7 separate regions of the Homo sapiens genome follow, and regions 1, 3, 4, 5, 6 and 7 are each linked to region 2. The links are contacts of gene promoters, found by promoter capture Hi-C in blood cells and fetal thymus (Javierre and others, 2016). All regions are on one chromosome and are shown on one strand. The core of a region is centred on a gene start or on the middle of the fragment in contact, and the rest is flanking DNA. Distances in the headings are between cores, read along the strand shown. Region 1 holds the start of LINC01814 (long intergenic non-protein coding RNA 1814). Region 2 holds the start of RNF144A (ring finger protein 144A). Region 3 holds the start of KIDINS220 (kinase D interacting substrate 220). Region 4 overlaps KIDINS220 (kinase D interacting substrate 220). Region 5 has its middle 14 kb from the start of ID2-AS1. Region 6 has its middle 30 kb from the start of LINC01814. Region 7 overlaps KIDINS220 (kinase D interacting substrate 220).

Region 1 (2,949 bases), core at 379-2,878, 1.7 Mb before region 2:
TGACTTAACTTTTCTGATTGTCAATTTTCTTGCCCATAAAATAAGGAAAAATACATTTTAACCCGTAGAGTTGTTTCAGAGATGAAACGAAGTGACATATGAGGTATATTTGATATGACAGTCAACACCAGTTAAGGGTTTATCCTGTGCTGGTCACTATTGTAAGCTCTTCTAAGCACTGTGTGAACTCATTCATTCTCCTCTAATGACCCTTAGAGGTAGGTAACATTATTATTATCTCCATTCTTAACATTTTCTAAAAACAGTTATAGTGAGAGAAATTAACGTACTATACAATTTACCCATTGAAAGTGTACAATCCATTGCTTCTTGGCATATTTTTAAAAATTGTGGAAAAATATATAAAGCTTATCATTTTTATAATTTATATTTTATAATTCATATCAGAACCTGGCGATGTGAATTATATTCATAGGGTTGTGCAGCCGTCACCACTATCAACTTCCAGACCATTTTTATCCCTCCCAAGTAGAAACACTGCACCATGTTATGCCCATTCTACAGATGAGAAAACCGAGGCACAGAAAGATGAGGAAACTTGTTCAAGGTTATGCAACCAGTGTCTGGCAGAGCCCGTGTGTGAGCTCAGGTCATTTGGCTCAGAGCTGGTGCTCTTCACCTGCAGGAGGAGCTGGGTATTCTGTAGCCTCTAACTGAGAACCCATTCCGTGCCATGCTCTTTCCTTCGGCCATTGTAACAAGGCTGCAAGACAGACAACGATTGCTGTTCCCATTTTGCAGCTTAGGAAACCGAAGCTCAGGGAAGTTAGACAACTTTCTCAGGGTCACAGCCATGGTGAGCGGCAGAGCCAGCTTTTGACCCCGGGGTCTCACTGACCCCAGAGTTCACAGCAGAGTCGCAGAGCTTTCCTGGTGTCCAGCTTAGAGAGCACACAGTAGGTGCGCGGAGTGCGAGCTGAGCTGCCCTTCGAGATGCAGTTCCGAGGGAAGCCTAGGCCCGGGAGACCCCAGCGGGTCCTGCAGATAAAGGAAAGTTCTCCAGTCAGCCCCGGAGGAACGCTGATCCCGCTGATCCCGAGGCAGGGCCCGAGGTTCCTGTTCGGGGCCTCCCTGCTGTGAAGGAGTCCTGGACCCCCGAGAGGTCCATGGAATTCTGCAGGGGAAGGCCTGATATGGAGGCCTGTGGAAGTCACCGAGGAGCCCCTCTCATACCACCTCACACTTATTTCTTCAGGACTTCAAAGTGCCTCGCCGGGAGGAAACCATGGGGGTCTGCCTGAAGCTGTTAAAGTAGCCGGCAGGATTCGATGTGTGCCCTGATTGCCAGGGTAGGGGCGGGGGGTGTAAAAGAGAGAAAGATTATACACAGGCCTAGGAATGATGAAAGGTCTTAAGCAATGAGGGGGACTTGAAAAGAGGCGACCAACAGGTCGGCTGGTATGCCTGGAGACGGGAGGCGGTGCGTGTGGAGAGTAGCAAGCTGTGCGGAATGAGGCTGGGAAGGTGAGCCTGGAGGCCCTCCCTGAGGCTGGATTGTGGGAGGAGCGGTGGGCAGGACCTTGAACATGACCCTGCGAGGCGGGCCGGGAGGGGGCGTGGCATGCTGCGGCAGTGGGCGGGCTTTGGCTGGGGCTGGGCATAGTCACGGCAGTGGGCGAGGTGTCGCCTGGCCCCGCCCCGTGGGTCCCACCCCCGGGGTGCACCCCCCTCCCTGGAGCTCTGGCTGCGTGCTGGCTCCCAGAAGAGGAACCTGCTGCAGGCGCCGGCGCGGGCGGCGAGGACGACCTGTTTTTCTGACCCAGCCCGGAAGCGCTGGTGCAGGTGGTCTCTGAATGAGGGTTCCTCTTTGCCTCTGATGTCTGGAAGGGGAATTCAGCAAGAGGGACTCCAGTCTGGAGCTCTGACCCCAACTTCCTCAATCCAGGCCCTCAAAGAGGGCGGCCTGTGTCACCGGGCGCCGGATTCCCCGGGGGGTGCCCGGGGTTGGGGCGGCACATTCCCACCTGGAGTGCCCTCATGCCTGGCTATGCCGGACCTGCAGGGTCACACCCTCTCTCTGGACCTTTCCCTCCCCTGCACCCCCGCCCACGCCCCAGGCCCTCTGCTGCTTAAGCCATGGCCCTGGGTCTGTATCCTGACCTGGGCTGGTCATTGTTCTGCATTGGGTAGTTTAATTACAACTTTCTCTGCGCTTATCTGGTCTATGAGCTCGTGATCGCAGGGACCCTAGCACAGGGTCTGGGACTTACTGAGAGATCAGTAAATGTTCATGGATGGTGGACATGGGTGTGTAGGATGCCGGTCTCCTCCCCTGAGAAGGGGCTTGGGCAGAGGAGTCCCTAGTTCGCCAGGAGCAGCCTCGCCCCACCTGACCAGGCCTGGGACAAACCAACAGGTTGCTGTCCTGGAAGGAAAGGGGTGCCTCCTTCCACCTGGGGAGGCTGAGCTGCTTCTCTCCTCTTAGGCCCTGTGCTGCAAGGCGCCCATACCTCCAGTCCGCACCTCAGGAGTCCTTCCCGTGTCCTCTGGGAGTTCCTGCCCATGCTGGCTGAGGCCCCAGGTCTGCCTGGGAGCAGTCCCACAGAGGGAAGGTGGTGGAGGAAGGGGCAGGGATGCTGGCTGAGGAAAGGCCCTCTTTCCTACGATGGCTGTACCCAGGAAGCCGGCCGCAGGTTCCCTAAGCCGAGGCAGCGCTGGCTGTAGTTTCTCTGGGCTCCTGGGCTGGTGCACCTGCCCCTGCCTTCAGAACGGGCCCCTGTGCATGGCTGGCATCTGTGATTGGGGGTAGTGCGTGTTTCTGAGTAATGTGAAAAGAGCAGCTTCTTTGACTTCACCATTCCTAGAAAATGGCCTCAACTTGCTGGAAGAGTGGGGACAGAGGGTCTCAGTTTCTCATGTGAAGCTTGCAGGCCATTGTCTTCAGCACCCAGCATGTTTTGGGGCCTTTGAGGGACTTGAGGGGCTTTT
Region 2 (3,252 bases), core at 1-2,500:
CTCCCGAGTAGCTGGGACTACAGGCGCCCGCCACTGCGCCCGGCTAATTTTTTGTATTTTTAGTAGAGAGGGGGTTTCACCGTGGTCTCGATCTCCTGACCTCGTGATCCGCCCGCCTCAGCCTCCCAAAGTGCTGGGATTACAGGCGTGAGCCACCGCGCCCGGCCAGTTCAATGGATTTTAAAAATTATTATTCTCTAGAAAAAAGACCACGAACTTTGGAGTGGACATCCTGAGACCTGCCTACGAAGACCATTAGGGTAAAGAAGTCACCCCTTCACCCCAGGACCAGGAAGCCTCCAGGATGGCATAAGCGACCAAACAGCTGGGAGCCAAGCACAGTGCAGGGGGCTTGGGGTCGGCGGCCGGAGGCTGGGGTGGGTAAGACCCGCAGGGAACTCCGGGGCTCGGGCGGCGGCTCATTCCCCGGGAAAGGGCTCGCGGTGGGGACCAGGGGCAGTAGCAGCCGCGGACCCCGCGCGCAGGGGATGTGCGGGGCATCCTCTTGGCCAGTTCCGACCTTCCCCGCCGGTGGCGATGCCCCGGACGCGTCGTCCTTTCCCAGACCTCCTCTTGGGGCCGAGGCTCCAGCCCCAGGGTCTGCGGGCGGGGCCGCGAACCTTGAAAGCCCCCGCCGCCAGCTCGCCCGCGGGACCCTGGCCCGGGGCGCCCTGTCCCGCGCCGCAGCGCAGACCCGCGACCGCGCAGGGCAGGCAGGGGGACGCCAGGTCCCTAAGCGCCCACTGCCCTGGGGCGCGGGCGCCGCCTGCGAGAGGCAGGGCAGGGCAGGAGCAGAGCAGGGACGAGGTCAGGGACACGGGCAGGGCAGGGCGGGCGTCCTCTGAACGGAGCCCGCGAGTCCCCGCCCGGGACGCTGCCCCCCGCCCGCTGCCACCGGGCGCCGGGGCAGGACCCAGCGGGGCAGGCGCGGCCGCAAGCCCCGAGCCCCAAGGCCGGCCGCGCAGCGCCGCGTCCCGCCCTCCCCGCTCCGCGGCCGGCCCGGGCGATGCGGACACAAAGGGGACGCGCGTCACTCTACCTGGGCCTGCTCGTCCGCGGTGCGCGGCTCTGACGCCTCCGCCCGGTACTGGCTGCGGGGTGCCGGGTGCCCGCAGTTTGCCGCCCGCGCCTCCCCGCGCCCGCGCAGCCCGCACGGCCCGCACTGCAATGCCAGCCCTGCCGCCTCCCGCCTGCCGAGAGCCCGCGCGGGGAGAAGCGGCTGCGCGGGCGGGGCGCGAGCGCGCACAGAGGCCGGGCACGCGGGAGGCTCGGCCCCGGCCCCGCCCCCGCGCCGAGCCGCACAGCGCCCCCTGCCGCCCGCCTGCGCCGGCCCGAGGCCCGGAGCCGCCCCGCAGGCCCCAGGACAGGCTCCGGCACGAGGAGGGGCTGCGGAGACCGCCCGTGCACGCTAACATGAAAATGCTATTCCTGCTTTAGTGGCCTCCAGAAGACACTCCCCTGATTCCTACACCGAGGGAACACACAGCAGCAAGCTAGGAAAGAAGGGGTGACCCAGCCCAACGCTGTAAACCAGGGCGCGAACCGGCGTTGAGCTGTGCAGCTGCGCCCTGGGCTCCAGTCCTGCTCTGCCGCAGACCCCACCGGAGCCAGCACCTGCCTCCCCGACCCTCGCTGGGGCGGCTGTGAGATGAGCCCAGAGCCTTCCTGAGCCAACCCTCGCAAGGAAAGTCTGTCTGTTCACCCCACTATCCTTGTCTTGAAGGATGAAGAAAAGAGGGCCCCCCGGGAGGTCCCAAAAGGTGGAATGGACATCTGGGATCCAAGCACAGCAATTTCTTTATTTTTCTTAAGGTATCCAGCTTGTTGGAATCTAAGATCTGCGAAGGTATTAATAGAATTCCTGCATCTTCTGCCACTCCCCATAGAAGCTTGAAGTTACACAAATGTTAAATTATACGTCAGATGTGCATATATGAACAAAACCTACGAGTGTGCATGAAATAACACCTTCTTAAATATATAGATTCTTTTTTCTGCAATATTAAATGGAAACCCCACTAGAACATCGTTTTTCCTTAATAGCATACCCTCCACACTGTGTGGTCTAAATTCAAGCTCTACCACCTACTAGCCATTAAGCAAGTTATTAAGGTCTTCGTGCTTCCATTTTCTTACGTGGAAAATGAGGTGGCAATAGTATGTATGAGTTCTTCGGAGGGATTAAACAAGTCAAATAGGCCAAGTGCCATGGCTTACACCTGTAAGCCCAGCACTTTGGGAGGCCAAGGCAGGAGGACTGCTTGAGCCCAGGAGGTCAAGGCTGAAGTGAGCTGTGTTTGCATCACTGCACTCCAGCCTGGGCAGCAGAGTGAGACTTTGTCTCTCAATAAATAAAGAAATAGTCAAATTAAATATAACTGGCAAACTAAAACAACTCCATAGTCCTTAGCTACAATTTGTCTCATTTCTCCAAAGAATTAAATCAGATGATTCTTAACTAACTCAAAGCTCTGCATAATTTGTCTTCTGCTACACATACATCTTTATAGTAAAATAAAATAAAGCTGTCCCCTCTGTATTGAGAAGTTATTCTGGTAAATATTTGACCTCTTCAAATATATGAACGAGCACTTGCCTTCTAATGCCTCAGTTTCAGATTCTTTTTAGAAATGTCATTATTCAAGAAAAATGCACAATGGGAAGAATCTTAACAACAGCACTTTGTTACTTCAGCCTCTCACTAGAGGATGAAAATCGTTCTGCATAAAGGCCTGGGCTTTATGAAAAATATATTCACACCTCCCGTGTCCGAGCTGGGATACCAAAGAAGTTCCTGGTTGAGTACTACTTATGAATGAAGGATTCAGGGGATGCACAGGTGGGTGACTGCAAATGCACAGACGTTGTGCTGTGTTCCCCACAATAAAGGGGTCTGTATTAAGATGCAGGCATTCTCATGGAACACAGACGTATAACACTCAAGCTGGGGGACTGCAAAGGAGCATCTGGGGCTGCAGGAAGAGAGTTAAGGTGCAAAAATGCCCTGACCCAACTGAGACTTGTAATTGCTCATGTGGTAATACATGTGACTTCATTCCCCTGCTCTGTCTTTGTGAATGCAACCATTGTTGGGGAGATAGTGAGAGGGGACACTGGCATTGAAAGTTTTGTTTGCAGCAGGCCTCAAAAGGCACTCAGATGCAGATTTCCCTGCAAAGACTTCCCGGCCTATCATGGAGTTCCCCATCCCTAGATCTCTGATCTCTGAGCTGGTGTAATACTTAGTCTTTG
Region 3 (2,809 bases), core at 215-2,714, 1.9 Mb before region 2:
ACTCTAAGGTTGGCTTCATCCTTATATCCTACTGATATGGTTTGGCTCTGTGACCCCACCCAAATCTCATCTCGAATTGTATTCCCCATAATCCCCACGTGTCAAGGGAGGGACTTGGTCGGGGGTGATTGGATCACGTCAGCGGTTTCCCCCGTGCTGTTCTCGTGATAGTGAGTGAATTCTCACGAGATCTGTTGGATGTAAAAGGGGCTTTTGACCCTTTTGCTGGGCACCTCTCTTCCTGCAGCCATGTGACGAAGGACGTGTTTGCTTCCCTTTCCGCCATGATTTTAAGTTTCCTGAGGCTTCTCCAGCCATGCAGAACTGTGAGTCAATTAAACCTCTTTTCTTTATAAATTACCCTGTCTCAGGTGGTTCTTTATAGCAGTGTGAAAACGGGCTAATACACCTACCATACTTCTAACCCCCAACGCCTGACCCACCCTGCCCTGTTTACAACAGTGGCTGGCCTTAGCAAGTCATTATCGAAGAAATCACACCATTTAGGACTCCACTGTACACGTTGGGGTGTTCGCTCCTTGTTTCATGAGGGGCACACCAACTTCCGTTTTTGTTTGTTTGTTTGTTTGTTTGGAGATAGGATCTTGCCCTGTTGCCCTGGCTGAAGTGCAGTGGTGTGATCTCAGCTCACTGCAGCCTCGAACTCCTGGGCTCAAGTGATCCTCTCACCTCTGTCTCCTAAGTGGCTGGGACTACAGGTGTGCAACACCACGCCTGGCTAAGTTTTGTATTTTTGTATTTTTTTTTTTTTTTTTTTTTTTTGTAGAGAAGAGGTCTCTCCATGTTGCCCAGGCTGGTTTCAAACTCCTGAGCTCAAGTGATCCTCCGTCTTGGCCTCCCAAAATGCTGGGATTACAGGAGTGAGCCATTGTCCCCACCCCGCACCAACTTCTGATGAAGTCAGGCTCCTTATTGGCTTTTTCCTGAGTTGCCAGGTTGACACATTGGTGGGTGCTTTTCGATGGTTCGCAACCTACGCACGTCGTAATCATCCTTGGACCTTTTCAAAAATCAAGATTGACGCTTGTTGGCAGCAAGGCCTAGGAATGTGGAGGCTGAAGGAGGTGAGGGGAGGTGCTGGGAGACCTGGAAGGAGTGTGAACTACAGGCCCCGCGAAAGGCAGAGGTCTCGCTCCTGGATCCGGAAGAAGGCTGCTGAGCGGGCTTTCATTTCTTATGTATGTGCAGTTTCTTCTGAAGATATAATTGATGTTTATTTCTCTGAATAAGCTTGATTATAATGGAAAATAGGGATAATAAATTAACTGTAATAAGAGTGACATTGACACTGAAAAACCTTGCCTGGGGCGCTTGTCCTGGGTGTCCCCGCCCCGCGGCCCCTCCAGCCCCGCCTGCTCTACGCCCCGCCCCGCCCCTCCCCTCCACGCCCAGGGGGCGTGGCAACCCGGAGTCCCTCCCCTACCCAGGGCACGTGATCTGTCAGTTCGCGGAGAGGGAAGAATATGGCCGCCGGGTGTGGTGAGGGCGACGCGCTTGCAGTCGCCGTCTCTTGCTTCCCCGTCCTCTGACATCGCCTGCAGCCGAGCGGGCCCGTTCCGCCGGAGCTGAGGACCAGGTTGGGAGACCGTCAGTGTGGAGGCCGGTCCGCGAAGCTTTGCCGCGGGATTGGGGAGGAGTCGGGGGCGAGGCCGGGCTCGGGGAGTCGGGCGGGGAGGTGGGACAGCCGAGGAGTGCGCGGAAGGGGCGAGCTCGGACCGGGGGTCCCGGGGAGGGCATGGCGCGGGCCCCGGACGCTCGGGCCCCGGCTTTCGGGGCGAGTCCGCGTTTCCTGGAGCGCCGGGAAGGTCTCCGACCTTGGAGTCTCTGGTGGTCTGTCTCCTGAGGGGCCCCTCGGGTGGGTTGGGGTGAAGGGTGTTGGTAAAACCGTTTTTTTTCTTTTGCCAAGCAGCCTCTGGCACATCCACCACCTTGAGAGCCCCCTTAGCTGGTACCGCTAGTCTTTCTAGGTTCCTCCTCCTAGGCTTCCACGGGCCGGGAGGTGTTGTTTTCTCCCTTGCTTTTATCGTGGGCTCCATTGCTCCATTGTCCTGTGCAGGCTTTTAAACGCCTGGCAAAATAGTGCAAGCCATTGATTTCCACGCCTCCAAGATTTATTTATAGGGAAATAATTTCTTCATCACTTTGTAATGTTGGAATTTTTATTCTTTCAAGTTGACAGGTTTAAACCGATGAAAAATTTTTTTATGAATAACTATGCAGCCATCTCTGCTCCCTATGGGCGCTTGTTAAAAATGTAGATTTCTTAGCGTTTTAGAGATTCCCATTCCTTCGGCCTGAGGTGTGGCTCGGGAATCACCCCTTCAGGTTCGTTCCTGTCCACATTTTGACAACACTGAGGACCAGACATCTACACCTTTTTAAACCACCGTGGGGTATTGAGTGCAGAGCCCAGGTTGGGAAATGCCGTGGCCAGGTGTGTTCTTTGTTCTCTTCTAGCTTTACTAGCATGGACTACTTTCATCAGAATCATTTTGGGGTGCTTGTTAAAATGTCAGTTTCTGGGCACCACCCCAGATCTAGGGAATGGGATTCTCCCGGGGAGGAGCTCAAGGGATATGTGTATTTGACAAGCTTCCCAAATAATTTTGGTGCACACAAGTTTGAGAATCCTTGTTCTACACCCTTTGTGTGAATAATTTCCAGATCATTCACACACAGTGTGAACGGTATCTTTTTCCAAGTATTGGGTGGGTTTCTCCAACCTAGTTCTTTTGGGACACTTCAAATTCAGCCTGGCCAAAGCCCCATTCGCCCAGCTGGGGTGGTG
Region 4 (3,054 bases), core at 526-3,025, 1.8 Mb before region 2:
ATGCAATTTTTAAATCATTTTTACAGTCTTTGCTCAGGCTTCTAGGCTGTTGTGTAGTGTACTGGTTTGCATAATTTTGTAAACAAAAAAGTGCTGATCTGGATTCTGAAAAAATGATGAAGGAAATTAAATATGTGCATGAAGATGGAGGAGAAGCTTTATTTCAGTCTGCAAAAAACTGAAACTAAAAGAAAAACCCAGGATGACTTATGAGCACAGCTTATTTGTTGATCTTCTTCAATTTGTTAAAATGTAATATGTAACAGCATTCTTTTCTATTATAGTTTTAAGGAGTTAAAAACGTGTAAGTCATTACCTGAGGGATTTTGAGCCATGTCTGTGGCTCCTGTTTGAACTGGTGCAGTGAGCAGTCAGCAGCTTTTGAAGCAGTCAGGAGCAGGTACCCGCTCTGCTGCTATGTCTGTGGTGGTGTTGCATCCATTGCTTACCTCTCTGAGCCTCAGTTTCCTCATGTTAAAAATGGAAATAATAAATACCTTATGGGATGCAGAGAGAGAAGTTAGATAAACTAGGTAAAGCACCTGCCTCAGAGAATGGCAGACAGTAGGTATTCAGCCACTTCGTTCTTCTTAAAATTCCCTCTCAATTCTTCATAACTTTTAAATATAGTTTCCCTGTTAGAGTTTATATAAGAAGAGGGATACAGAGCCCCTAAATGTACCTTCCTCAGAACATTCGACGTCGTAGACATGAATGAAGACAGTGCCTTACCAGTATTGTACTTGAACCTAGGCAGATACCCCTTTTGAGTTTTTATCTTTTACCCTCCCTGGTTGTTGATTGTTTTTTCATCCATCTAGTTGCCAGAATTGCAGCCTTAAAGCCAAAGAGAGTTTTTGTATATGATGACATTCTACTGAGTTTAAGGGTTTTTTTAATCCTTTAAATTACATGCGTACAAGTTTCCTTCCTTCATATAAAAACATAATCTTGGGCCCTGATGTTCTGGCCAAATAGGTCATCTTGGAGATATACACCCTCGGTGGGAAATAGTTTTTGTTTAATGTCGAGTAAACTCTTCTAGTAAGTGAAATAATAACTTTGTTTAGCTCTGCCAATGGTTTCCAGGGCAGCTTATACAAGTGCTTTTATGGTTTGCACTATTTAACCCTAATCACACCGTCCTTAAACACATAAGTCAAACACATTAGATACTTGCAAATGTCTTCTTTTAAACCAGAAATAGACAAACACACTTGAAGAAGGCATGCCATGATGATCTATTTGGCCTGCAGAATATATAAGCACTTCGTTGTTTCCTAGTGTAGTTACTCAATAAGATGCCTAAAATGCAAACTTACTTTTGTAGACCTTGAAAAGTGAGTGTCAGTGAGAACACCTGGCACTGTTCGCATTGTTGTCTTGAGAATATTCTGTGACCACCACACGAGCATAGATGCCTCTTTTCTCTTCTGGCAAGTTCTTTTCTCTGTTGAGAGTTGTTGTGTACTTAATGCAGTCTTCTGCATGTGGACAGCTTCAGCTCTTAGTACTTTTATTACTTTGGCTGTGGCAGACAAAGTGTCTACTTTCTGACCCCCTAAGCTAATGTTCTTTCCAACATGGTAGGAAAGGTGACTCATGGAATAGTTATGAAAATACTTTTACAAGAATATTAGGAATGATTAAAACTTATGGGATGCAGCAAAGGCAGTACTCAGAGGGAAATTTATGGCTGTAAATGCGTACATTAAAAAAAGAGAAAGATATTAAATTAACACCCTAACCTAACACCTCGAGGAGCTAGAAAAAGAAGAGCAAATTAAACTCCAAGCTAGCAGAAGGAAGGAAATAATAAAGGTTAGAGTGGAGAGACATAAAACAGAGAACAGAATAACAATAGAAAAAAAGCAATGAAACCAGAAGTATTTTCCTTGAAAATACCAGCAAATTGACAGATCCAGTGTGGAAGTCCAGGCTCAGAGGCAGATCCAAAGGCCAAGGTGAGCAGAGGTGCCTCGAGTTGGAGTTGCTGCTGAGACCAGGATCTGTTCCTGAGGATTGGTGAGGGTGAACAGGGCTTAATCATGGTAGATTTTTCTCAAGTATTTTTTCCAGTGTGTTTGGAACCTGGGAAGTGAGGATTTTAATTTGGGGATTACATAGACAGGAAAAACCACAATTTTATGCAGATTACAGGTTGGAAAAGTCATTACTAACATTCCTATCATCAGATTTAATGTTGAGACGGCAACTTATAAAAGCCATACAGGGCTGGGCGCAGTGGCTCACGCCTGTAATCCCAGTACTTTAGCAGGCCGATGCAGGCAGATCACCTGAGGTCAGGAGTTCGAGACCAGCCTGGCCAGCATGGTGAAACCTCGTCTCTACTAAAAATACAAAAATTAGCCAGGCGTGGTGGCTGGTGCCTGCACTCCCAGCTACTCAGGAGGCTGAGGCAGGAGAATTGCTTGATCCCAGGAGGCAGGGGTTGCAGTGAGCCGAGATTGCACCACTGCACTCCAGCCTGGGCAACAAGAGTGAAACTCCATCTTAAAAACAAAACCAACAAAGAAAACATACAGAATTCCAAGTCCAGGATTTAGGAGGACAGAGCCATACTGAAGATGTTATTATTCAAACACAGATGCTGTGGAGCAGACAGTTGTGACCGAGACCGAATTGGCATTTCCAAGTCAGTGTTAGTTGCCATGTTGATGGAGAGCTGAGAAAAGCCATTTTAATGGCATTTGCAAATAAGCAGGACATGGAACAGGCCATGACTCCCTCAGAGATGCACATTCACTTGGGTTATCTGCCTCGAAGGACTGAAAATGGCAAATATTCAAAACTTCAGCAACCAGAGGTACTGGCCTTCATGAGACAACGGAATGGGTAGTTGAAACATTAAAGAGCAAACAACAGTACAGTCACTTCTGCTCCTCTGAAATGAAGACGGCCTCACATATCCCTTTGGAAACAATCAAGTGTGCTTCTCATGACTAAAGGTTAAAGCTGTAAGACTGTTGGCATTTACTGAACTGACTGTGACATTAGTAATAAATATAAAAAATAGATATTTAGTTGAAAGGG
Region 5 (3,022 bases), core at 253-2,752, 1.8 Mb before region 2:
TGGTGTTTATTGTTGTGAGGAGCTGTCTTGTGCATTGTGGAATGTTCAGCAGGATGCTCTCTGGCCTCAGAGACTCACTAGATTCCCATAGAACTCTCCTCTCTCCTCTAGTTGTGACAACCACAGTTGCCTCCTCTCCAGACATTGCTAGATGTCCCCGGGAGGCAAAATTGTCCTGGTTGAGAACCACTGTGTTAGAACTCGGTCACATGGCCATACCTAACTGCAAGGGAGGGGGCTGGAAGATCTAGACGAGTAGTATGCCAGGAAGAAAATAGAACTGATTTAGAGGCTGCTGGCCAGTCACTTTCAGTGACCTTCAGCATACTTATTCCTCTGCAGCTGTCAGGACACTCATGCCTGTTTCTGAGATGTTTCCTGTGTGAGGGGACATAGTGACTATTGGAGGGGTGACATGTTGGACTTGGGTAGGGTGAAGAGGATTGGAAACCACCATCATGTTTGGCAGCATTGAATGTTTATGACTATTTGAATAGTTGTGACAAGGGTACAGTGAAGGAGGAAGTAACCATTTTTGAATACCCTTTTACAATTTGCAAAGCACTTTTAAAGGTAAGAGTGAGTTCCTAGACCATATTAGGGTGAGAATGGACATTGTTGGCTGCCATATCATTGGGCAGGGGCTTTGAGATTTTTGTCTTCAGAAGGCAGATTAGATTTGGAGTAGAAGGAGAAATGTAAAGACCTGGTATCTGAGTGTGTTTGCAGAGGGGAATTGTCGTTTGGAAGCACAAGAAAGGGAATGGCCCGTTGGCACATATGGTACATTGTGTTTTCATATAATTATACCTGAATGAAAGCAAGAGGAAACGTGTAGGAAGCTGTTTACATAGTCCTTTTAATAATGTTTACATGAGTTAATGAACATGCAAACGTATCTGATGAAAACATGTCAGTAGTGAAACAGCCTTGTGAAGAATCAGATCTTACCTCAGGCTGGAAAAAAGGACTGGTTTTCCAAGCTCACAAATTGCAGCCAGTGTGAATAGTAGCACAAATGACTGAGCTTTAAGACATCCATCCATCCATCTATCCATCCCCTCATCCATCCATCCCCTCATCCATCCACCCATCCATCCATCCCTTCATCCATCACTCCATCCAGCCATCCGTCCCTTCATCAATCCATCCATCCCTTCATCCATCCATCCATCCTTCCTTCCATTCATCCCTTCATCCATCCGTCCATCCATCCATCCATCCACTCATTCATCCCTTCATCCATCCATCCATCCATCCTTCCTTCCTTCCATTCATCCCTTCATCCATCCGTCCATCCATCCATCCACCCATTCATCCATCCATTCCTTCATCAACTCATCCCTTCATCCATCGTCTACCATTCATTCACCCCTTCATCCATCCATTCATTTATCCATCCGTCCATTTACTTCCATCCATCCCTTTATCCATCCATTCACCCATTCATCCCTTTATCCATATGTCCATTCCTCCATCCATCCATCCATCCATTTACTCTTCATCCCTTCATCCATTTTTCCATCCATTCATCCATTCATCTTTTCATCCATCCATCCATTGATCTATCCATCCATCCATTGCTCCATCCAACCATCCATCCATCCCTTCGTCCCTTCATCCATCCATCCATTCATCCCATCATCCATTGATCACTTCATCCATCCATCCTTCCATCCTTCCATCCATTCTTCCATTCATCCATCCATGTGTTCAGCAAGTATTTACTGAATGCCTATTATGTGCCAAGCACTCTCCTCAGAACTTAGGAAATACCAGGAAACAAAATCAACAACAATCCCTCACCACCTGGATATTACATTTTGGTGGGAAGAGACAAAGAAATAAAATTGGTGAGTGAATCACATAGGTTATTAGAAGGTGATAAAGGTGTAGGTGATAAAGGAGAAGTGCCAGGAGCAAGGATTGGGTACAGTTGTGAATAAGGTGGCCCCAATAGGTTGCACTGAGAAGGTGACATTTGCACAGAGACTTGAAGAAAGGAAGGAGAGAACATGACTGTACCTGGGTAACAGCATTTGTGGAAGAGGGAACAGCCAGTGTAAAAGTTCCAAGGCATGAGTGCCTGGTACATACATGGAACATCGAGGCCAGGGTGGCAGAAACGCGGTGAGTCCAGGAAGGGAATAGGAACTAAGTGTAGGAAGGTGTACAGTGGGGTGGTGTGGGGGTGGAATTGTGGCAGCCAGATGGTGTTGGCCTAAGGCCTCTTGGCCCTTGTTAGGACTTGGTTTACCATGGCGCAACACATCCATGAGATTGGCAAAAATTAAAAAGTCTGACAACAGAAAATCTGGTAATCTGGTGAGGATGTGGAGCAGTGGGAATTCTCCAATACTGCCAGGGAGCATGGGCATCAATCCCACCACACTGGAATGCAAAGGGGCATTCTGAGTAGAACTGAAGATGTGCCCATCCTTGACCCCACAGTTCCAGCCATGGGCATGCGCATGAATGTGCACACGTGTTGACTGCGGCATTTGTTTGTCATTATGAAAACATCTAAGTTTCCATCTATGGGAGAGGGGATAATGTGGGAGTGCCCAACAGTGGAGTTCTAGAGAGCAGTAAAAATAAATGGACTAGAGCTGCACACGTCAAAATGGATGAAGATAAAAGACATAAGGATGGAAGAAGACCACCTGGCCACAGAAGTATATGTCCAATATGATGCTGGTGTATCCAGAGTGTTCAAACAAACAACACAACACTACTCATTGTTTCCAACGTGAGTATGAAAGTATGGAGCAGTGCGGAGGGCCAGGAGTGCTGAATCCACATGGTTACTTCTCCAGGCGGGGGCCGAGGACCAGGGCTGGAGGTTTACTCCAGGAGCTTCAGTGGTGCATGCTGAATGTGCTGTTTCTTGGGCTGGGGGACAGAGATGTGCATGCTGTTATACACTCTATATTGAAATGATTGTATAACAATATACTAATTTATCATGTAATAAATTTGACCAGAAAGAAACAACTGTTCTGTGGCTGCTTCCATGACTGGA
Region 6 (3,151 bases), core at 274-2,773, 1.6 Mb before region 2:
CAGAACATATACCGCTAGACTTAGTGGCACAGAACAATCACAACTTGATTCTGCTCGTGAACTCTGAAGTCTGGGAATTTAGGCAGAATGGGGATTATCTGGCTCTGCTCTACCATGTCTGGGGCCTCAGCTAGGAAGACTTGAGTGGCTGGGGTGGTGTGAACAGTGGGGGACTGGGATCATCTAAGGGTTTTTCACTGACGTGTTTGGGTACCTGGGCTGGGATGACTCAAAAGTTGGGCTCAGCTGGGAACAGTCCTTGGAGTGCCTAACTTGGCATCTATATGGCTTGGGCTTCCTCACAGTATGGAGGCCTCAGGGTGGTCTGAATTGTTCATGAAAGCTTAGGACACCAAGAGCTAGTGTTGCAACAGAACAGGGAAGAACCTGCATGGCCTTTTGTGACCTCACCATGGAAGTCAGACATGTCACTTCCATTGGTGGACGGTCACATGTCCACCCAGATTCAAACAGAGGGGACATAAACCTCACTTCTCAATGGGAGAAATGTCAAATAATTTGTGGATATGTTTTAAAGCTGCTTCAGCCTCCCTTATCACATATTAAATTTCCATTTATAATGGATCTGTTTCTAGACTCTAACATGTCCCAGTGGTCTATTTGTTTAACCCCGCTCCAACATCACCTGCCATCCTACAGACTTTTCTTCTCGGTTATGACAATATTTTAAAATTTCTAAAATAAAACTTTGGTTAGAAAGTAATATTACCTGTAAGCAATGATTTTTTTTGTGTGTCCATTGGGGGTTCATGGAGTTTTTAGGGTGGGTACACATGATATTATGCGCTGACATCTTGTAATTATATCTCTACTTCTTAGAGGAGAATTTCAGCACCTGTTGAGTTCATCTACCTCACCCCTGACCATTTTATAGGGCAAAGAAGCCCATGCAAAGACATTAAGTGGTTTGGCCATGGTCCCTAGCATGTTGGAGGCAGGGCTGGCCCCGGAACCCAGGTCTCCTGACTGCAGCATGGTGCCCTGCCTATCAGGCTGGCTGGATTCTTCACACCCCAGCCTTCGTTGGTTACATTGTGCTCACTATTGATGGTTGCCTGTGGCCGTTGACAAGGGTTTTGGTTACCTGTATGTATGATGCTGACAGTAAACTGTGGAGCAAACGCGCCTCCTGCACGGTGAGACAGCCCCCAGGTAGAAACGGCGTCTTGGCTGGTGCCCCACACTGCACGGTTACTTCAACCTTCATGCACTGAGCACTGCACCAACTGCCAGAAGAATGTATTGGCCATTTTCATCATTTCTACACTGGATGCTGGGTTTGGGATTTAGAGATCAGCTGTGGAGTAGGCTGACCTCTTACCAATGCCCTGGGAAAATGCGGTTCAAATTAATCGTCATTCCCTGGGCTGTTGGGAGCTGCTTGCAGGGAATATCTCCCTGGAGGTCTCTTTTTTGCTTTGCCCTGAACTTTAAGACCCTCAGAACTTTCTGTAAGAGGCTGGCCTTTTAGAGCTGAGAGGGACTTCTGTAACCTAAACTAGGTTAACCAGACTTGGATATTTGGCAGACATTTTCTTGAAAATAAATGAAGTAAGCCTGTGGCTTCAGGAAAAATAACTGATAGTATCTGTTGCCATACAATTAGACCTTTCGTGTGAAAATTAAAATTTTAGAAAACTTGTATCCATTGCTGTGAGCTTGATAGCTTCCTAACACCTCCGGACTTTTCTGATGGAATTCATGATCATATTAATGCACTGGCTGTGTAATGAAATGTGTTGACGTTTGATAGATCACACGTCAGTGAATCAATATTTGCCAAATGACCAATACATTTATTGCAAAATCATGAGTGGGTAAACAAATGATCTATTCAAAGTGCAGGATAGCTAATAGATTTTAATGTAGTCATATAAAAAAAATAGGTGAGATGGGTTCTCATTCAACAGTGCAGCTAACCTATGAGAAACTATCATGATTTGAATTTTGGTATAGTATGGAAGAGGAATAGCCACAATTGTCTGAAAAGTCTATTACAGACATGTCCCTCTTTTCTAGCTACATATTTGTTTCGGGCTGAATTTTCTTCACATGCCTCAGCTAAAGTGATCTAATGGCCCAGGCTGAGGGCAGAAGCAGATCTGACAACCTGGCTGTTTTCTAAGTCAGACACCCAGGAGCTTTGAACAGGCATAAATTATTGCCATTCTTCTCACTGATATTTTTGTTTTGAAAAGTATAGTGGCTGGGGCACGGTGGCTCACGCTTGTAATCCCAGCACTTTGGGAGGCCGAGGCAGATGGATTACTTGAGGTCAGTAGTTCGAGACCAGCCTGGCCAACATGATGAAACCCTGTCTTTACTAAAAACACAAAAATTAGCTGGGCATGGTTGTGGGCGCCTGTAACCCCAGCTACTGGAGAGGCTGAGGCAGGAGAATCGCTTGAAACCGTGAGGCAGAGGTTGCAGTGAGCTGACATTGGGCCACTGCCACTCCAGCCTGGGTGACAGAGCAAGACTCTGTCTCAAAAAAAAAAAAAAAAAAAAAAAAAGAAAGAAAGAAAATGTAGTTATTTTTCTTAAAATATGAAATTTATGTTTACATGTCATGAATTATTGTTATTTTTGATACAAGTTGATACATATTTTAAAATTTTCTCAGTTTTAATTTGTAAAACAGCAAATGCCATCAAATCTAAACTCACATGAACAAAAGCTTTTGAGGATGCTGAATAATTTTTAAGAGGGCAAAGTGGTCCTGAGGCCAAAAAATCTGAGAGAGGCTGCTTTTCAGAAAAACCTACCTTAGTTTAAACAGTTAAGAGACCTCTGCACAGGCACCTGGTTGGTGAGGCCTATGCCAGGTGCAAGGGCGGCCCCCCGGCTGTTACCTGTGAGCTTTCACCAGGTCTGACTTCTGCCTTTTAGGCAAATGACCTGGATCCTGTGGGGCATGACTCGGAGACCACTGGGCATGTCTCCTCTTCGGCGTGCTATTTAAAAGCAAATGAAATGGTACCAGCGTGTATTTCTGAACGAGTGTGAAAAGAGAACGTCAGAATAGAAAGTTCAACGGTAACTGTGCAATGAGTAATGTGGGTGTTCTCTAATGGGGACCAGGAAAAGGGAAACTTGTCGGGAAGACGGGGTGTATGCTGATGTCAGGAGG
Region 7 (2,897 bases), core at 135-2,634, 1.8 Mb before region 2:
CAGCATTCATCCTTATAGGGCTTGCATTGCCCAGGTTTAGCAAGAATCCTGTTAAGTCAGTTTACATGTGTGATCACCCTCAGTATTTGATCAAACGCCTCACTAACCCCCCCACCCCCAGGTGATGTCGGCTCACCCTGGCCATCGGCGTACCAAGAGTCCCCCACTCCTGCTGCCTCCCCTTAGTAATGTTCCATCCACGACCCCCACCCTGCCCCTTGGTGGTAGATCCCCACTCATTCGTGCTTATTCCGAGTTGGACTCCCTTCTGTAGTGAGACTGCTTACCCCTGTTGCCATAGTTCTGAATAAAATCTGGACCTACCGCCCTACTCCTGGCCAGCTCTGGTTTTGACACAAGCCAGCTGCATTTTTCTTTGTCCTCAAGTTAAGTTTTAAACAGAAGTAATAATTTAATGGACAAATTGCAGTGTAGTATATGTATGGTGGTTTCTACCATTGCTTCCTTTAGTATTAATGAACATGAAAGATAAGCTGATGTATAAAACAAATTCACTAGAAATTCACTTACCAGAAGTATGCTTTCTCATTGCTGTTGCAATAGCTTTATAATGTTTGGTATTTCTAAATATTTCTAAAGCTTCTAAAATATGATTTGTTAGTGTAAATATTTATGTTTTTCTTCTGTTAAGGTACTAGAAATGAGAAACGCAGAAAGCCACGTGGTCCCTGAAGACCCACGTTTCCTCAGTGAGAGCAGCAGTGGCCCAGCCCCGCACGGTGAGCCTGCTCGCCGCGCTTCCCACAACGAGCTGCCTCACACCGAGCTCTCCAGCCAGACGCCCTACACACTCAACTTCAGCTTCGAAGAGCTGAACACGCTTGGCCTGGATGAAGGTGCCCCTCGTCACAGTAATCTAAGTTGGCAGGTATTTATTGAATGGCATTTTTCATATTATTGAAGAATAAGCACACCGTTCAGTTCACTGAGATTATATGGGCATTTAGACAGTCATTCAGAAAATGCTTACTGAATACCTAAGTGAACAGGAGACAAGATGGAGGGCTCCCTGTACTCAAGGAGCTGCATCCATGTGGAGAGGGGCAGTCAGTGAAACAAACAAAAAAGTAGCTCATGTAGACATTGATGAGAGCTGAGATATCCATCAGGGTCACAGCATGCAGAGTCAATAGGGATTAGGCCACTTGAGCTAGGGTGGTCAGCAAATTCAGCCTTTCTCAGGCGATCTTCCTGTTGCATTCAGTAACTGTTGGTTGAAGTACATCTTCATTGGAACACTGGCCACATAGTGTCCCTTTGAGCACCATCCTTTGGTTTTCCAGGACGCCTGCACACCCTTCACGGATATTGGTTTCTTCTGGTCTGGCATTAGATGTAGGCGCGTTCTTCCTTTGGAGATTCTTAGAAGAAGGAGGCCAGGTGAGGGGTAGGGGTAGGGGCAGGGACAGAGCAAAGTGAGAGATGCAGGAGGAGTAGCGGGAGTGAGGAGAGCGCAGGAGGAAAAGCAGAGCAGGGTGTGGAGAACAACGGGGGAGGAGGCACAGCGGGCGGCAGCGAGTAACACTGAGTGGGCAGGGCAGGGCAGCGGTGAGGAGGAGCAGCGCCTTGGGGAAGGAAGAAAATGTCCTATTTCCTTGAGAAGGTCCCCAACAAATTCACTTTGCTCCTTCTTTTTTGTTTTAGCCTTTGCTCTTGACCCTTCTTAAACTTTCTTGATTCTTCTCCTTCTTTTTCCTCATCTGTACTTTTTGCTCCTTGTTTCTTAGCTATTCTGGGATCTGAAGCAAATTCTAATTCTAAAACTTAATATTGGAAATAAACTTGTAAAACTACTTTATTTTTCTGTTTACTAAGGCCCAACTATTGGCCTCATTGCATTTTATATTTTATCAATGAAGTTGACTTTGGCCTTAAATAAAAGCTAAACGTTTGAAGTTATAAAAACAAGTGCTGTGGCCGAGCATGTGGGACATGCCCATAGTCCCAGCTGCTCAGGAGGCTGAGGCGGGAGGATTGCTTGAGTCCAGTAGTTTGAATCTAGCCTGGGCAACACAGCAAGATCCTGTCTCTTAAAAATGAAATAAAAACCAGAAACAAGTGCTAAGATTATTTGTTAATACAGTGTTTAATCATACTTTTAAATATTAACAATAAACTGATTTTATTAAAATTTATAGAAAGCTTTCTAGTAACAGCATTATAAGGTCACAGCTTTTGTTAATCTGTGTTATGTAGAATTCTTTTAAAAGAATTTGATGTTTTGATGACTTTTTAAATGGTTAGTGTACATATATATTTCCTAAGCTGATGTTTATGCCTTTTTTCTTCTTATTTGAATTTTTAAATTATTTTTTTTCTGTCTTCACAGTCACAAACTCGCAGAACCCCAAGTCTTTCGAGTCTCAATTCCCAGGATTCCAGTATTGAAATTTCAAAGCTTACTGATAAGGTGCAGGCCGAGTATAGAGATGCCTATAGAGAATACATTGCTCAGATGTCCCAGTTAGAAGGGGGCCCCGGGTCTACAACCATTAGTGGCAGATCTTCTCCACATAGCACATATTACATGGGTCAGAGTTCATCAGGGGGCTCTATTCATTCAAACCTAGAGCAAGAAAAGGGGAAGGATAGTGAACCAAAGCCCGATGATGGGAGGAAGTCCTTTCTAATGAAGAGGGGAGATGTTATCGATTATTCATCATCAGGGGTTTCCACCAACGATGCTTCCCCCCTGGATCCTATCACTGAAGAAGATGAAAAATCAGATCAGTCAGGCAGTAAGCTTCTCCCAGGCAAGAAATCTTCCGAAAGGTCAAGCCTCTTCCAGACAGATTTGAAGCTTAAGGGAAGTGGGCTGCGCTATCAAAAACTCCCAAGTGACGAGGATGAATCTGGCACAGAAGAATCAGATAACA

What was found. The method cuts DNA at HindIII sites, captures the fragments that hold promoters and counts their contacts. A CHiCAGO score of 5 or more calls a contact.
Region 1: a contact is called between a fragment that was not itself captured here and the fragment with the promoter of RNF144A in region 2, in 2 of 17 cell types (fetal thymus and erythroblasts). The highest score is 9.9, in fetal thymus.
Region 3: a contact is called between the fragment with the promoter of KIDINS220 here and the fragment with the promoter of RNF144A in region 2, in 5 of 17 cell types (fetal thymus, non-activated CD4 T cells, total B cells and 2 more). The highest score is 11.2, in fetal thymus.
Region 4: a contact is called between a fragment that was not itself captured here and the fragment with the promoter of RNF144A in region 2, in 1 of 17 cell types (total CD4 T cells). The highest score is 6.2, in total CD4 T cells.
Region 5: a contact is called between a fragment that was not itself captured here and the fragment with the promoter of RNF144A in region 2, in 2 of 17 cell types (fetal thymus and naive CD8 T cells). The highest score is 6.6, in fetal thymus.
Region 6: a fragment that was not itself captured here is called in contact with the fragment with the promoter of RNF144A in region 2 in 1 of 17 cell types (erythroblasts); the score reaches 7.0 in erythroblasts.
Region 7: a contact is called between a fragment that was not itself captured here and the fragment with the promoter of RNF144A in region 2, in 1 of 17 cell types (naive CD4 T cells). The highest score is 7.4, in naive CD4 T cells.

What each region holds. Positions count from the first base shown.
Region 1 is chr2:8,582,571-8,585,519 of GRCh38, reverse strand. LINC01814 (long intergenic non-protein coding RNA 1814) reads left to right here and starts at 1,728. Exons shown (of 6, transcript NR_110257.1): 1 at 1,728-1,803. RefSeq lists enhancers at 432-1,110, 1,111-1,790 and a silencer at 1,468-1,837. The HindIII fragment of the contact is 2,516 bases long and covers 371-2,886 here.
Region 2 is chr2:6,915,410-6,918,661 of GRCh38, reverse strand. It overlaps RNF144A (ring finger protein 144A), which reads right to left and starts at 1,250. Exons shown (of 9, transcript NM_014746.6): 1 at 1,040-1,250. GRASLND (glycosaminoglycan regulatory associated long non-coding RNA) reads left to right here. Exons shown (of 5, transcript NR_033997.1): 1 at 1-260; 2 at 1,438-1,812; 3 at 2,695-2,839. RefSeq lists a silencer at 921-1,410. The HindIII fragment of the contact is 2,406 bases long and covers 1-1,891 here.
Region 3 is chr2:8,836,268-8,839,076 of GRCh38, reverse strand. KIDINS220 (kinase D interacting substrate 220) reads left to right here and starts at 1,464. Exons shown (of 30, transcript NM_020738.4): 1 at 1,464-1,597. RefSeq lists silencers at 1,288-1,337, 1,348-1,407. The HindIII fragment of the contact is 383 bases long and covers 1,254-1,636 here.
Region 4 is chr2:8,757,342-8,760,395 of GRCh38, reverse strand. The region is part of intron 22 of KIDINS220 (kinase D interacting substrate 220); the gene reads left to right. It also overlaps the pseudogene LOC100216337. Among named protein-coding and RNA genes, the nearest start is that of ID2, 77 kb to the right of the region's middle. The HindIII fragment of the contact is 3,233 bases long and covers 159-3,054 here.
Region 5 is chr2:8,666,608-8,669,629 of GRCh38, reverse strand. No RefSeq gene overlaps it. Among named protein-coding and RNA genes, the nearest start is that of ID2-AS1, 14 kb to the left of the region's middle. The HindIII fragment of the contact is 5,903 bases long and covers 1-3,022 here.
Region 6 is chr2:8,552,462-8,555,612 of GRCh38, reverse strand. No RefSeq gene overlaps it. Among named protein-coding and RNA genes, the nearest start is that of LINC01814, 30 kb to the left of the region's middle. The HindIII fragment of the contact is 2,355 bases long and covers 346-2,700 here.
Region 7 is chr2:8,731,436-8,734,332 of GRCh38, reverse strand. It overlaps KIDINS220 (kinase D interacting substrate 220), which reads left to right. Exons shown (of 30, transcript NM_020738.4): 29 at 653-889; 30 at 2,351-2,897. Among named protein-coding and RNA genes, the nearest start is that of ID2, 51 kb to the right of the region's middle. The HindIII fragment of the contact is 1,563 bases long and covers 603-2,165 here.